3 separate regions of the Homo sapiens genome follow, and regions 2 and 3 are each linked to region 1. Evidence: promoter capture Hi-C in 16 types of primary human blood cells and fetal thymus (Javierre and others, 2016). All regions are on one chromosome and are shown on one strand. The core of a region is centred on a gene start or on the middle of the fragment in contact, and the rest is flanking DNA. Distances in the headings are between cores, read along the strand shown.

Evidence for each region. Contacts are between HindIII fragments. The CHiCAGO score rates a contact against its expected background, and 5 or more counts as called.
Region 2: a contact is called between a fragment that was not itself captured here and the fragment with the promoter of NOD1 in region 1, in 3 of 17 cell types (activated CD4 T cells, total CD4 T cells and naive CD4 T cells). The highest score is 6.1, in activated CD4 T cells.
Region 3: a fragment that was not itself captured here is called in contact with the fragment with the promoter of NOD1 in region 1 in 1 of 17 cell types (total B cells); the score reaches 5.2 in total B cells.

Annotation. Positions count from the first base shown.
Region 1 is chr7:30,477,296-30,480,173 of GRCh38, forward strand. NOD1 (nucleotide binding oligomerization domain containing 1) reads right to left here and starts at 1,489. Exons shown (of 14, transcript NM_006092.4): 1 at 1,311-1,489. RefSeq lists an enhancer at 985-1,729 and a silencer at 1,378-1,617. The HindIII fragment of the contact is 7,069 bases long and covers 1-1,934 here.
Region 2 is chr7:30,617,791-30,620,668 of GRCh38, forward strand. The region is part of intron 10 of GARS1 (glycyl-tRNA synthetase 1); the gene reads left to right. Among named protein-coding and RNA genes, the nearest start is that of GARS1, 24 kb to the left of the region's middle. The HindIII fragment of the contact is 900 bases long and covers 1,062-1,961 here.
Region 3 is chr7:30,342,131-30,345,008 of GRCh38, forward strand. All of the region lies in intron 2 of ZNRF2 (zinc and ring finger 2), which reads left to right. Among named protein-coding and RNA genes, the nearest start is that of LINC01176, 47 kb to the right of the region's middle. The HindIII fragment of the contact is 5,981 bases long and covers 1-2,878 here.

The sequences.
Region 1 (2,878 bases), core at 239-2,738:
CTTTGTCAATGCCTGGTTTGCCTGGATTTCAGCTACCTGGCCCCTGGCATCTAAGCCTGGGTGAGAACAGGGAATCCACTCCTCTCTAAGATGCATCGTGGAGTTACTCTTTTACTCTTCCCTGAAAGTGATAGTTCAATCTTCAACAGGGGCTTTGAGGGAGAACAAACTCGACCCTTTGGCAAGCACGACTTCTGGCTTCACCGTTTTTTTGTTTTTTGTTTGTTTGTTTGTTTTTGACGGAGTTTTGCTCTTGTTGCCCAGGCTGGAGCGCAACAGGGCGATCTCGGCTCACTGCAACCTCTGCCTCCCGGGTTCAAGCAATTCTCCTGCTTCAGCCTCCCGAGTAGCTGGGATTACAGGCATGCGCCACCACGCCCGGTTAATTTTTTTTTTTTTTTTTTTTAGTAGAGACGGTTTCACCATGTTGGGCCAGGCTGGTCTCGAACTCTCGACCTCAGGTGATCCGCCTGCCTTGGCCTCCCAAAGTGCTGGGATTACAGGCGTGAGCCACCGCGCCCGGCCCTGGCTTCACCCTTAAAGCAGAAAGGCCAGAAGTCATCAAGGCCATGGGTTTACTAGCTTAGCTTCCCCAGACTTAATTTCAAACACCAACAACCGAAATGTTTCCTAGAATGCAGAGCTAATGAGACATCAACCTCTGTCATTTCCTATGTTTTTCACAATGTGCCAAAACAACTGCACACATTGGAGGCGTTTTTGAATGTGATATTCAGGCGACCTTGCCAAGCATTGTCTCATTTCCTTACTTTGTGGAGCATGAAACCCAAGGGAAGTTCTCACCCTCTCTCCAGGACCAAGCAGGACACTGGGAGCTGCTGTCCCGTCTGCAGGCGGGACTCCATGAAGGCCCCTGTCTGCCCTTCCAGCCTTTGCCACAAACCCTCGAACGCTGGCTGCACACTGGAATCACTTGGGGAGCTTTTAAAAGATACGGAGGCCTGGGTCTGACTCCGTGAGATTCTGATGGAATTGATCTAGGGTGCAGCCTGGATATCTGGATTTTAAAAGCTCCCCAGGTGGTTCTAAGCTGCTGGCACGATTGAGAACCCCTGCGTTCGACCACAGTGGGATAAACGATTCCGCTGACTGTGAAGTTCATCCCTCTCAACTTTCGCTACATGCTTCAAACTCGCGGGTTTCTCCGCTTGGTTCCACCCAGAGCTCCTCCAGAGCCGCGCTGCGTTCCGCCCGCACGCAAATCCCGCCTCCCTGCGCCTCCTCACTCGCAGCGCCCAGGACCTCAGAAAGGGCCTGCCCCGCGCGAATCCCCAGTCGCTGGGACTTACTTGGCCACCAGGTTTACAGACTTCGCAGCCGCTGAGAGCTAGAGAAGAGCCCGGAGAGCGCCATGGTCCGGGGACGCCGGGGCCGGGAAGCGCCGTGGCCCGGGAGGACGCTGCTCCCGCAGTAGCGCGAGGGAGGGGCAGGACCGGGGCGGCTGCCTCGCGGGCCCGGAACGGGAACTGGCTGCGACTACAGCCGCAGCCGCGCCCCTCTGTTGGCGCGCCCAAGAGCCTGCCGGCTGCTGGGAGAGGCCGCCGAAGGGCGGGGGCGGTCAAGGCAGGGTCCCACGGTGCTGCCATTCGCCCGGGTCTGGCGCGGGGGGGCGAGAGAAGCTGCGCGCAGAGGGACGCCCGGTGCGAGAGGGTGAGCCCCTGGCCACCGCGCAGGGCCGAGTGGACAGGCCCAAGTTCGCCCAGAGGTGACACACTTGGGAATTTGTGGTGCCATCGTGCCAGGTCCCTCCTCGTAAAAGTGCCTACCCAGCGCCTGCAACCAGAGCCAAAGCCTGGACATGATAGGGAAACTCTTGTTAAAACGCGACACGTGGTCCTGATGAAATGGAGGTTAACGTAATCAAATTTAAATTACACTGCATACATTTCAATTTATACTTTTTAAAAAATGTAAGCTTTTCTTCCTATCCTTAAATTTGTTCTTGGCAGTGTACATTTTATGTTCTATGCATATGCTCTAATAGGTTGTAAAAGAGTTTTAACATGCTAATAAATGTCCCCAATAAAATAGTTTTAAAACGTTTTGAATGGGGATCGTGTCCATAAGGGATATCATGCTACAGAAAGTTGTCACTTACTCACACTGAAGAAGTACATTCAATCATATAGCCACTGATGCTTGTGAGTATTAAAATTCCCATCAGAGGCTGCCCTCTGAGAAACAGAAAGTATGTTCTTAAATCAAAAGTGAAAGTGCAAACTAAAGTTGATAGGATCAAATGTGCCAACTTGTGTCAGGCCTCTGAGCCCAAGCCTGCATGTATACATCCAGATGGCCTGAAGCAACTGAGGAATCACAAAGGTAGTGAAAATGGCTGGTTCCTGCCTTAACTGATGACATTACCTTGTGAAATTCCTTCTCCTGGCTCAGAAGCTCCCCCACTGAGCACTTTGTAGACCTTCCACCCCCCCGGCCCCCGCCTTGCCCACCAGAGAACAACCCCCTTTGACTGTAATTTTCCACTACCCACACAAATCCTATAAAGCTACCACACCCCTAACTCCCTTTGCTGACTCTTTTTTTCGTACTCGGCCCACCTGCACCCAGGTGAAATAAACAGCTTTATTGCTCACGCAAAGCCTTTTGGTGGTCTCTTCACACGGACACGTGTGACATTTGGTGCCGAAGACCCGGGACAGGAGGACTCCTTCAGGAGACCAGTCCCCTGTCCTCACCCTCACTCTGTGAGGAGATCCACCTATGACCTCGGGTCCTCAGACCAAACAGCCCAAGGAACATCTCACCAATTTCAAATCGGGTAAGCGGTCTTTTCACTGTCTTCTCCAGCCTCTCTCACTACCCTTAAATCTCCCTCTATTTCCAATTCCAGTTCTTT
Region 2 (2,878 bases), core at 262-2,761, 140 kb after region 1:
GCCCCTGTGCCCTGTCACCCCTCCAGCCTCCACCACCAAACATGAACATCAGTATTGAAGCGGAGGGACGAAAGGCATTTGCATATAGGAGATGCTGTCTATATTGGTGGCAGGAGGAAATGTGGCATCTAAAACAAGGCTGAGAGTCTTTTGGCATTTCTCTTATTGGGTGTTAGAGAGGCTTCCTCGCCTACATAGAAAGAGACTTTAGTCCAGGGGTCACTGGTTCCAGTATACCCTTGGTTCAGTTTTTACTTTTCAGAATGGCTTTCTTTTTATGGATTTTTAAAAATTAAAAATCAAAATTAGTCATATTTTAAAAAGTAATGACTACTTTTTTTAAAACAAAAAGGAAAAAATAATTCTGAAGACTATTATGTAGAAAATTAAACTTCCAGTTATATGCCTCTCCCCAGGTGTTTTATGTCTCTTCTCTGTATTGAGCAAACATTTTCTATAAAGGACCAGATGGTAAATATTTTTAGCTTTATGAGTCTCTGTCACATAACTTTGTTGTTTTTTACAGCTTGTAAAAAACAGCTTTTAAAAAATGTCCAAACTGGCTGGGTGTGGTGGCTCATGCTTGTAATCCTAGCACTTTGGGAGGCCGAGGTGGGAAGATTGCTTGAGCTCAGAAATTTGAGACCAGCCTGGGCAACATAGCAAGACCCTGTCTCTACAAAAAATACAAAAATTAGCCAGGTGTGATAGCACGCCCCTGTAGTTTCAGCTACTTGGGAGGCTGAGGTGGGAAGATCACATGAGCCCGGGAGGTTGAGGCTGTAGTGAGCCATGATTGCACCACTGAACTCAAGCCTGGGTGACAGAGTGAGGCCCTGTCTCAAACAAACAGACGAAAAAAGATCATGCTTAGCTCCATGGTCTTGGGTATGTCTGCCTTCTCTAGATGATTTTTCTACGTGTTCTAACACATGCATGCATAAATGCATAATAATATGCATATGTTTATAAATGGCTATTAATGATGTTGTTTTTAATATATTCTTTTTCCCTTGTGGAATTAGAAAGAATTACTGTAATCTGTTAGGATTTTCTTAGCAAGCTTGCTTGACATATGTCAAAATGATAATAGTAATTATTTTTAGGATTATGGGTGATCATTAATTTCTTTACACTTTTTAGATTTTCTGGGACTTCTTTTTATTTTCAGATCAAACCAATAAAATGTTTTTCCTTTTGTATGAGAAAAGATTATTACTTTTCTTTTTGTTTCATACCCAGCTCCTTCTCTTAGTTTGCTCTGATTCTGATTTCAGATTAAACCAGATGTTGTTCTTGCTGTCTCAGTTAAGTAATTTGCTTAAGTCTCACAGCCAGTGAGTGGTGAGGCTGGGATATAAACCTGGCTGTCTGACACCAGACTCATGCTCTTAACAGTTATGCTGTACTGCTTTATAAACCCCACTGGATGCCTGCTCGTCCTTATCTAAGTGCCATTGTGAGGGTTAGGGATCAGAAAATGGAAAGTCACTGGAAAACAGGGCTAAATGAAACAAGAAGCTCCAGAGTCCCAGAGGCTCTTAAGGAGAGGGGAGAACTCCCTTAGAGAGTTTAATACTTTTTGTGTACTTTATATATTTTTTTAATAAAAAAATTTACCGTTGCAGTTAATGCCACACCAATTCTCTTTCCATCCAGAGAAGTAACCACTATCCCAATGTTGTTATTCTCAGGCACGTTTTTGTAATTTTACCTTTCAGTACATAAATGTTAGTTGACATCTGCAGTAAATTATAACCACCAAACTATATGGTTAAGAACATAAGTATACTTAACCAGTCGACATGTATAGGGAATGTCAGATTGCCAGGTTACATGTTTTTAGGCTTTGTTCTTTAATTCCTTTTGTTGTTGTTTTGTGTTGGAGTTTCTGAGCTCATATGAGTTTTATATTTGCTTGCTTTATTACAGACACCCCATGTGATAACATGTGCTTGGAAAGCTTAGTAGTTTTTTCTTTTTTTCTTTTTTTTTTTTTTTTTTTGAGACAGAGTCTTACTCTGTCACCCAGGCTGGAGTGCAGTGGTGCACTCTCAGCTCACTGCAGCCTCTGCCTCCTGGGTTCAAGCGATTCTCCTGCCTCGGCCTCCCAAATAGCTGGGATTACAGATACATGGCACTGCACCCAGCTAATTTTTGTATTTTCATGAAGACAGGATTTCTCCGTGTTAGCCAGGCTGGTCTTGAACTTCTGACCTCAGGTGATCCACCCGCCTTAGCCTCCCAAAGTGCTGGGATTAGAGACACGAACCACTGTGTCTGGCCAAGCTTAGTAGTTTTGATGGTTGAATTTCCCCAAACTCTTTGGATCAAGGGCAAAAAAAAAAAATGAATCTTCTTGAGAAGGACTAACTAGGTATCTACCAAAATAAGCTCTTTACAAACTCTTGTTCTTATTGAAATAACGGGTTCTTAAGAGTTTGTCATAGTTGGGGTTTCTATAAGAAAGCACCACATACAGAGTGGCTTATAAACAATGGACATTGATTTCTCACCGTTCTGGAGGCTGGAATTGAGAGATCAGGGTGCCAGCATCGTCTGATCCTTGTGAGGGCCCCATTCTCAGTCGCATACTGCCAACTTCTTGTTGTATCCTCACATGGTGAAAGAGGGCAAGAGAGCTCTCTGGGGTCCCAAATTCCAGTGATTAGGGCTCCATCCTCATGACCTAATCACCTCCCAAAGGCACCTCCTCCTAATACCATCACATTGGGAGTTAGGATTTCAATATACGAATTTTGTCAAGGACACAAGCATTCAATTCATTGCAGGTTCTTTGAAAATAATTTAAATTTTGCTTTTTAAAAGTATCTTATGTGTGTATTTATAAGAAAGGGAACCTGGCATCAATGTGATC
Region 3 (2,878 bases), core at 218-2,717, 140 kb before region 1:
GAGATAGATCTCCTGAATACAGTACACTGATGGGTCTTGACTCTTTATCCAATTTGCCAGTCTGTGTCTTTTAATTGGGGCATTTAGCCCATTTACATTTAAAATTAATATTGTTATGCGTGAGTTTGATCCTGTCGTTATGATGCTAGCTGGTTATTTTCCCTGTTAGTTGATGCAATTTCTTCATAGTGTTGATGGTGATTACAGTTTGTTATGTTTTTGTAGTGGCTGGTACTGGTTTTTCCTTTCCATATTTAGTGCTTCCTTCAGGAGCTCTTGTAAGACAGGCGTGGTGATGACAGAATCTCTCAGCATTTGCTTGTCTGTAAAGGATATTATTTCTCCTTCATTTGTGAAGCGTAGCTTGACTGGATACGAAATTCTGGGTTGAAATTCTTTAAGAATGTTGAATATTGGCCCCCACTGTCTTCTGGCTTGTAGGGTTTCTGCAGAGAGATCCATTGTTAGTCTATCATTTTTCTGTTTTCTAATTCATTAATTTAGACTTTTGTTTATATTATTTATTGTGCTTTCCTTAGGTATGCGTTTTCTGAGTTTATTGTGTTGGGGGTATTAATTTTTCTTTCTTGTTTTTCAGCAGAAGTATACAAGCCTATGAATTTTTCTCTGAAGATGTTTTAGCTCTGTTTCAAAGGTTCCGATAAGTAGTGGTTTTTTTTAGATGAGGTACTTTGTATTTTGGGGGTGTCTTTTTTAACTCAAAAGTTATTTGAGAGTATCTTTATCCAAGTGTAGAGGACTTTTTTCCCCCTGGTTTTGCTATTTGTTTCCTAGTTTTGCCGCATTGTGATCAGAGGATGTTGTCTGTACTAGTTTTATATTTTCAAAATTTATTACTGTTTTCTTTGTGGTTTAATGTAAGGTCACTTTTGGCGAATGTTTCCTATTCATGTGTAATTTAAAAGGTCCTTTGGGAGGACAAAGCAGGAGGATCACTTGAGACCCCAGGAGTTCAAGACCCGACCAGCCTGGGCAACATAGTGAGACCGTATCTCTATTTAAAAAATAGGAAAGTCAACCAAGCGTGGTGGTGCATGCCAATAGTCGCAGCTACTGGGGAGGCTGAGGTGGGAGGATCACTTGAGCCCAGGAATTGGAGGCTGCAGTGAGCTATAATCGCACCACTACACCTCAGCCTGGATGACAGAGCAAGACTGTCTCTGAAAAAACAAAAAGACATAGATAAAATTTAATGCTACTGCACTTCATCCTAGATGACAGAGACCCTGTTTCAAAAAAAGGTCTTTAATATTCATCTTTTTTTAAATTCACTTGATCGTCATGGACTAAGGTGAATTAAGGTGTGCTACTACTCATGTTTCTGTTTTTCTCTATATTGCATATTTTTTTTCCTTTACAAATGTTGCTGCTGTTATATGGGTATAAACATAACTATTATAACTTGGGTGCAAATTGCATTTTTTAATATTATAAAAGCTCCTCTGTCTCCTTTAATGTTTATGCCTTATGTTCAACCTTGTCAATAGTAAGATTGTAATTCATTCTTTCTTTTAGTTTGTATTTGCCTGATAAGTTTTTTTTTTCATTTTCATTTCCTGAATATTTTTTGTTTCTTATATGCTTTTTGTATACACAGTACAGGGTTAGATTTTGTTTGCAATCCAATCTAATCTTTGTTTTTTGTTTGTTTGTTTTTGTTGGTTTAGCCCATTTATATTTCTTAATATGGTCAGTGCTAATTCTGTCATTATACTTTCTGGTTTCATGACTTTTTAAAAATGTTTCACTGGGTGGCCAGCTTTTTTTTTTTTTTTTTTTTTTTTAATAGACCGAGTCTTGCTCTGTCACTCAGGCTGGAGTGCAGTGGCGCGATCTCGGCTCACTGCAACCTCTGCCTCCCAGGTTCAAGCGATTCCCCTGCCTCAGCCTCCCGAATAGCTGGGATTACAGGCGCCTGCCATCATACACCCAGCTAATTTTTGTATTTTTAGTAGAGACGGGGTTTCAGCATGTTGGCGAGGCTGGTCTCGAACTCCTGACCTCAGGTGATCTGCCTGCCTTGGCCTCCCAGAGTGCTGGGATTACAGGCGTGAGCCACTGCGCCCGGCCCCAGCTCTTGTTTCTTTTTTTTTTTTTAATTAGAAATAACTGTGTTGTTTCTTTTGATTAGAAATAACTGTGGTGTTTCTAATTGTATTTCTTATAACTGTATTTCTGTGTTTAGTGATTACTTTTATAATTTTATAGAATACCTCTTATTTTTAGATACTGTTTTTTTCTATGAGCAATAATGAAATTAGTGTATTTCCTATTTTTCTCCTTCCTTCCCGTGTTCTAATTTTAGTTGTTACATTACCTAATGTTTGCTTTTATACTATTAAGTTTTTTTTGTACTTCTCTTTGCTTTGTTAGCTTTAAATAATACTTTTTGACACCTAGTTATTTATATCATCTTCCCCCCATCCATCCTCACCTCTTTTAATTTTTGCTAGGTAGATACTTTATACATTATCTAATCAATGTTCCCACTTTTGTTTTAATCTTACCATTACGTAGATTCAGCTGCCACTGCTAATCCTTTTGCTTTAGTTTTTTCAGATGTCTCTTGGCTAGCTGAAGTTCATCCTCATAGAAATCCTTTCACATGGGCTCATGGGAAATAATTACCTAGATTTCTTGCATGTTTAACACAGACTGCTTATCTATGTGTCTTTTTGTTTTTTGAATAACAGTTTAACTGGGTATGAAATCTTTGGGTTATACCTTCTCTACTTGAGGACATTTTAAGCATTCTTCTGGTCTTACAAGTATAATAATGTGTTTCTGTGGAGAAGTCTGAAACCACCTGATTTGTCCTCCTTTTAAAATTGACTTAGTCTTTTTGCCAGAATGCCCA